Regions from separate parts of the Homo sapiens genome. Here region 1 is linked to region 2. The links are contacts of gene promoters, found by promoter capture Hi-C in human tissues and cell types (Jung and others, 2019). All regions are on one chromosome and are shown on one strand. The core of a region is centred on a gene start or on the middle of the fragment in contact, and the rest is flanking DNA. Distances in the headings are between cores, read along the strand shown. Region 1 has its middle 6.7 kb from the start of RRAS. Region 2 holds the start of HSD17B14 (hydroxysteroid 17-beta dehydrogenase 14).

Region 1 (3,201 bases), core at 33-2,532, 800 kb after region 2:
AATGGAGACATGTCAGCCACAGTCATTGATGGTGAGCACTTAGTATGCGCCGGGCTCATTCCTCCTCTGCAATCGTCTCCTTTAGTCTCGTGCTCACCCTGTGAAGTAGCTTTGTACTTACCCCCATTTTACAGATGAGACTGAGGTGGCAGAGCTGGATTTGAATTCAGGCATCCCGGTCACGCAAAGGCCATGCTCCACCCTAGGACTAGGAAGCAGGTTCCAGGGTGGGTGCGAGTAGAGCATTCAGGGATCAGGGGCCTGGGTATAGGGAGCAGATGTTTGACTGCTGATAGGTTTCAGGTGGAGCCTCAAGTTCAGGGCATCGGGACATCTCGGTTGAGGTGTTTTGTTTTGTTTTTGTTTTTTTTGAGATGGACTCTCGCTCTGTCGTCCAGGCTAGAGTGCAGTGGCGCAATCTCGGCTCACTGCAACTCCACCTCCTGGGTTCACACCATTCTTCTGCCTCAGTCTCCTGAGTAGCTGGGACTATAGGCGCCTGCCACCATGCCCAGCTAATTTTTTGTATTTTTAGTAGAGACGGGGTTTCACTGTGTTAGCCAGGATGGTCTCGATCTCCTGACCTTGTGATCCACCCGCCTCAGCCTCCCAAAGTGCTGGGATTACAAGCATGAGCCACCGCGCCCGGCCGGTTGAGGTTTTTAGCCTGGTGTGTTGGGTAGATTTGGGGCTTTAAAGATGGCCGGTCACACAGGCTTGGGAGGTGGGTGGACAGTGGTCTCCAGTTGGCTTCAGCCTTCCAGGGTAGCAAATAGTGGGCAGGACTGCTCCTCCCCCAACCAGAGCTTAGGTTGGATGTGGGAGAGTCCTAAGTGTCCCCAGGCTGGGCATGGTGGATCATGCCTGTAAATCCCAGAGCTTTGGGAGGCCGAGGCAGGAGGATTGCTTAAAGGGAGGAGTTCAAGACCAGCCTGGGCCACATAGCGAGACCCCATCTCTACAACAAAATGAAAAATTAGCCAAGTGTGCACTCGTAGTCCCAGCTACTTGGGAGGCTGAGGCAGGAGGATTGCTTGAGCCCAGGAGGTTGAGGCTACAGAGTTGTGATCACGCGACTGCACTCCAGCCTGGGCAACACAGTGACACCCTGTCTCAAATAAATAAATAAAATGTAAAAAACGAAGTGTTCCTAGGACACAGATGGGCTTTGGGTATCCAGACTGAAGTGTGTCATCCATTTACCCACTGTGGCCTTAAGACACCCAACACTTCTGCTTCTCCCAGGACAGAATAGGGGGTTGGATGGGGGATGTCCACACTGACCCCAAATTGGATTAAGTGTTTAGATTCAGATTTCAGTGCTACTGGGAACTTTCTGAAAATGAGGACTTGCCAGACGGCTGCTTGGACACCATTCCACCCACCTGTCCCTTCTCGATATACATTGAAGGTGAGAGTGGGACAGGCAGGGTTTGTAGCAGTTGCTCCCTGTCTCTATTTTTGTAGACAGAGTCTAGCTCTTGCCCAGGCTGGTCTCAAACTCCTGGCCTCAAGTGATCCACCCATTTCGGTCTCCCAAAGTACTGGGCTTACAAGCGTGAGCTACCACACCCAGCTGAGTTGCTGCCTGTCTCCAATGTCCTAGAACGTTCTATTGGAATGTTCTAGAAAGCACTATCCAATAGCCCACTCAGCAATGATAGGAATGTTGTCTATCTGCCCTATCTATTAAGATAGCCACTAGAGGCTGGGTGCGGTGGCTCACGCCTGTAATCCCAGCCCTTTGGGAGGCCGAGGTGGGCAGATCACTTGAGGCCAGGAGTTCCAGACCAGTCTGGCCAACGTGGCGAAACCCCGTCTCTACCAAAAATACAAAAATTAGCCGGGCATGGTGGCATGCGCCTGTAGTCCCAGGTACTCAGGAGGTTGAGGCAGGAGAATCACTTGAGCCCAGGAAACAGAGGTTGCAGCAACTGGAGATCCTGCCACTGCACTCCAGCCTGGGTGACAGAGCGAGACTCTTGTCTAAAAAAAAAAAAAGTCACTAGCCACATGTGACAACTGAGGTCTTGAAATGTTGATTTGACTGAGGAACTAAGTTTTATTAAAATATTTTTTATTTTGTTGTTGTTGTTGTATTTGAGACGGAGTCTCGCTCTGTTGCACAGGCTAGAGTGCAATGGCACAATCTCGGCTCTCTGCAAACTCCACCTCCCGGGTTCAAGCTATTCTCATGTCTCAGCCTCCTGAGAAGCTGGGATTACAGGCGCCCACCAATGCGCCCGGCTAATTTTCGTATTTTTAATAGAGACAGGGTTTCACCATGTTGGTCAGGTTGGTCTTGAACTCCCGACCTCAGGTGATCCATCCGCGTGGGCCTCCCAAAGTGCTGGGATTACAGGCGTGAGCCATCGCGCCTGGCCTTTATTTTTATTTTTTTTATTTTTTATTTATTTATTTTTTGAGACAGTCTTGCTGTCGCCCAGGCTGGAGTACAGTGGCATCACCTTGGCTCACTGCAATTTCTGTCTCCCAGGCTCAAGCGATCCTCCTACCTCAGCCTCCTGAGTAGCTGGGACTACAGGCATGTGCCACCACACCCAGCTAATTTTTGTATTTTTGGTAGAGATGGGGGCGGGGGGGGGTCTCACTTTATTGCCCAGGCTGGTCTCGAACTCCTGAGATTAAGCGATCTGCCCACCTCAGCCTCCCAAAATGCTGGGATTACAGGCATAACCCACTGCATCCAGCCAAATTTTATTTAATTTTAATTTAAATAGCCACATGTAGCTTCTGCCTACCATATTGAAGAGCGCATTCTATAACTTTCTAGGAAAAAAAATTCCTTCATCAGATGTTCAAAGTTTATCCCAAGAAAATACCCATAAGGTCAAGAGATTGAGACCATCCTGGCTAACATGGTAAAACCCCGCCTCTACTAAAAATACAAAAAATAAATTAGCTGGGGGCGTGGTGGCATGCGCCTGTAGTCCCAGCTACTCGGGAGGCTGAGGCAGGAGAATGGCATGAACCCAAGAGGCGGAGGTTGCAGTGAGCTGAGATCACACCACTGCACTCTAGCCTGGCTACAGAGTGAGACTCCATCTCAGAAAAACACACACACACACACACACACAAACAGAAAAGGGTAGAATCGCCCTGTTGAAGGGAAAGTGGGGGGTCTAGGCACTTGGTTATGCTTTATAAACTTCTTCTGCTCCTCCCCAAGCAATAGGTTCT
Region 2 (3,619 bases), core at 7-2,506:
ACTCCTGGGTCTGAGGGAGGAGGGGCTGGGGGCCTGGACTCCTGGGTCTGAGGGAGGAGGGGATGGGGGCCTGGACTCCTGGGTCTGAGGGAGGAGGGGCTGGGAGCCTGGACTCCTGGGTCTGAGGGAGGAGGGGCTGAGGTCTGGACTCCTGGGTCTGAGAAAGTAGGGCCTGGGGGCCTGGACTCCTGGGTCTGAGGGAGGAGGTGCCAGAGCCTGGACTCCTGGGTCTGAGGGAAGAGGGGCTGGGAGCCTGGACCCCTGGGTCTGAAGGAGGAGGGGTTGGGGACTTGGATTCCTGGGTCTGAGGGAGGAGGTGCCGGAGCCTGGACTTCTGGGTCTGAGGGAGGAGGGGCTGGGGACCTGGACTCCTGGGTCTGAGGGCAGAGGGGCTGGGGGCCTGGACTCCTAGGTCTGAGGGAGGAGGGGCTGAGGTCTGGACTCCTGGGTCTGAGGAAGTAGGGCCTGGGGGCCTGGACTCCGGGGTCTGAGGGAGGAGGTGCTAGGGGTCTGGACCTCTGGGTCTGAGGGAGGAAGGGCCAAGGTGAGGGCTGAGGGACCGTCACTCACCATCCTTGTCGCAGATAACCACTCGGGCCCCGCTGTTCACTGAGAATAGGAAGGGAACAGGTTACTCTCCGAGCCTTGGTTAAAGCCTCTGCCGCCCTCTTGTGGCCACCTGGATTGGGGCTGATCTCCCTCTCCCCTCGTGACCCCAGTCTCATGATCACCCATAGGACAGAGGGCAGACGCCTTGACACATACTCTCCTTGCCTTGTTTCTGCTGAGGCTCCTGAACCCCCGTTCGTGGCTTCCGGAGCAAACTCCACGACTGACAGAGCCATTCCTCAAACCACTGGTTTTGTAGCTACACCAACAGACCCAGAGAAAGGGGCCACTGCCTTCGGAGACCCTGCCAGACTCAGCCCTAGCCTACAGCGCCACACGCTTACTTTAGCCTGCAAATTGGCTTTTATAATATCAGAATCCTGGCTGCAGTACTGGAGTCCCTATTTTCCGCCCCCATCACCCCGCCCCCATCCTTCCTTTCTCACACTCCACAGCTCCCAGCAGTCAGACCCGGCTCACCGAAGGCGCGCACGATCCCAGCTCCGATGCCGCGCCCGCCCCCGGTCACGACCACCACCTTCCCGGCATAGCGCGTTCCCGTAGCCATCCCGTGTACGTCGGTCTCTCTCTCTCTCTACTCTGGGCCTCTTTCACCTCCAAAGCCCCGTGAGGCCGTCGCATCAAATCCTCAATAGAGGCTGGATCCTGGAAGTCCGGCCTCGGGGGGCGTTGCCAGGAAGGCTAGAGACCTGGAAGTTTGTCCCCAGCCCCTCCTCCCTCAGACACTCCTCTCTTCCCACAGACCCAGGAATCCAGGAGCCCCAGTCCCTCCTCCCACAGACCCAGGAATCCAGAAGCCTCAGTCCCTCCTCCCTCAGACTCGGGAGTCCAGGCCCCCAGCCCCTCCTCCCTCAGACTCGGGAGTCCAGCCTCCCAGCCCCTCCTCCCTCAGACCCGGGAGTCCAGCCTCCCAGCCCCTCCTCCCTCAGACCCAGGAGTCAGGGTCCCAGCCCCTCCTCCCTCAGACCCGGGAGTCCAGCCTCCCAGTCCCTCCTCCCTCAGACCCAGGAGTCAGGGTCCCACCCCTTCCTCCCTCAGACCCGGGAATCCTGGCCCAGCCCCCTCCACTCTCAGACCGAGGGATCAGGTTCTCTATCCCTTCTTCCCAGAGACCTATAAGTCCAAGCCCCCTGTCCCTTCCTCTCTCAGGACCCAGGAGTCCACGACTCCAGCTCTGCCCCTCAGAGACACCAGTGCCACAACCCCAGACAGACAGAAAGAAAGCTATTGACTAAAAGTTCAAAGTTTTAATCCAAATTTAGACAGTGTTGAGAAAACCAAACTTTGGCCATAGAAACCATTCCCCTCCCGGGCCCGCAATGGGGACCAGACCACGCCCCCTGATGCCCTGAGTGGTCCCAGATCTCCGGCGGTACCTCCAGACCACGTCCTCGCGCTCCGATTGGCTGCCGCTTTTGGGCGGATTAGAAGCTGGATTGTAGCAGAGTGACTCGCAGAGGCCATGCCCCCTCGTCTTGTGGCAGGACCGGAGGGGCGATCCCGGCATCCCACGCGGGCCCCCAGGGGGTGGGACCTCCTCCACGCCCACTCCCTCGGCGAGAGAACCCCGTGGAACCCGAATTAGCCACCGGGGGAGATCTGGGGGGAGGGGTCTCCTGGCGCGTGGGGTCCGAAGGAGGCAGCGGCACACCGGGAAGAGGGTCTCCCTGGGAGTCCAAATTTCCACCTGGAGAGGATGAGTGGGACATGAGAATGGCAAACCTCAGCGCTAGGACCCCGGATTCCCAGCCCCTCCTCCCTCAGACCCAGGACTCCGGATTCCCAGCCCCTCCTCCATCAGACCCAGGAGTCCAGGCCCCCAGCCCCTCCTCCCTCAGACCCAGGAGTCCAGGCCCCCAGCCCCTCCTCCCTCAGATCCAGGAGTCTGGATACGCCAGTCCAGTCCTCTTTGAGACTCAGTTGTCGGCCCTCTCCCCGCCCCCTGACCTCTTCCTCCCCTCCTCCCAAGTGTCCCGGACCCCAGTCACCTCTTGCCTGAGACCTAAAACTCCCAAACCCTGCCCAACTCTTTACTCACCAAGATAAAAAATTCTCACCGGCCCCCAGACCCCTCCTCTCCAGGACCTGGGATTCCAGGTCTCCAGCTCTCTCCTCCCTAAAACCCAGAAGTCCAACATCCCCAGCCAGTCACCTGTCATCATTCTGTGCCACTGCGACGCCTCAGTAGCCAGGGCTTGGGAGAGGCTGAGAACCCGCTCCCGGTGACCTTCGGAAGTCGGCAAGTAAGGGGTGGTGTTCCTTGGACTAGAAAAAAAAAGAAGATTGGGGGTGGGGGTGTGTACATGGGGGAGAGGTGGGGGATGGTTAATTGGTACAAAAAGAAAAGGATGAATAAGACCTACTATTAGATAGCACAACAGAATGACTATAGTCAATAATAATTTAATTGTACATTTTTAAATAAATTAAAGGGTGTAACTAGATTGTTTATACATCAAAGGGTAAATCCTTGAAAGGGGATGGATACCCTATTCCCGATGATGTGCTTATTTCACATTGCCTGCCTGTATCAAAACATCTCAATTATCTCGTAAATATATGTATACCTAGTATGTACCAACAAAAATTAAAAATTAAAAAAAAAAAAAAAAAAGCAGGCCAGGTGCGACAGCTTATCCCTGTAATCCCAGCACCTTGGGAGGCCGAGGCGGGCGGATCACTTGAGGTCAGGAGTTCGAGACCACCCTGGCCAACATGGTGAAACCCAGTCTCTACCAAAAAATACAAAAAAGTTAGCCAGGCATGGTGGTGGGTGCCTGTAATTCCAGCTACTAGGGAGGCTGAGGAAGGAGAATCATTTGAACCCAGAAGGCGGAGGTTGCAGTGAACTGAGATCACGCCATTGCACTCCAGCCTGGGAGACAGAGCAAGACTCCGTCTCAAAAAAAAAAAAAAAGTAAAAAATAAAAATAAAAATAAAAAATAAACAGCTGGCACAGTGGGGACCCGGGTACCGCACGTGCCTTTC

The links. The method cuts DNA at HindIII sites, captures the fragments that hold promoters and counts their contacts. A contact is called where the count stands out against the background at its distance.
Region 1: a fragment that was not itself captured here is called in contact with the fragment with the promoter of HSD17B14 in region 2 in 2 of the 25 tissues and cell types used here (aorta and dorsolateral prefrontal cortex).

The regions. Positions count from the first base shown.
Region 1 is chr19:49,631,851-49,635,051 of GRCh38, forward strand. No RefSeq gene overlaps it. Among named protein-coding and RNA genes, the nearest start is that of RRAS, 6.7 kb to the right of the region's middle. RefSeq lists an enhancer at 726-1,225. The HindIII fragment of the contact is 5,234 bases long and covers 1-3,201 here.
Region 2 is chr19:48,835,235-48,838,853 of GRCh38, forward strand. It overlaps HSD17B14 (hydroxysteroid 17-beta dehydrogenase 14), which reads right to left and starts at 1,257. Exons shown (of 9, transcript NM_016246.3): 1 at 1,090-1,257; 2 at 571-609. The coding sequence starts at 1,177. PLEKHA4 (pleckstrin homology domain containing A4) reads right to left here. Exons shown (of 20, transcript NM_020904.3): 19 at 2,783-2,895; 20 at 1,863-2,317. The coding sequence ends at 2,055. RefSeq lists a silencer at 2,165-2,234. The HindIII fragment of the contact is 14,395 bases long and covers 1-3,619 here.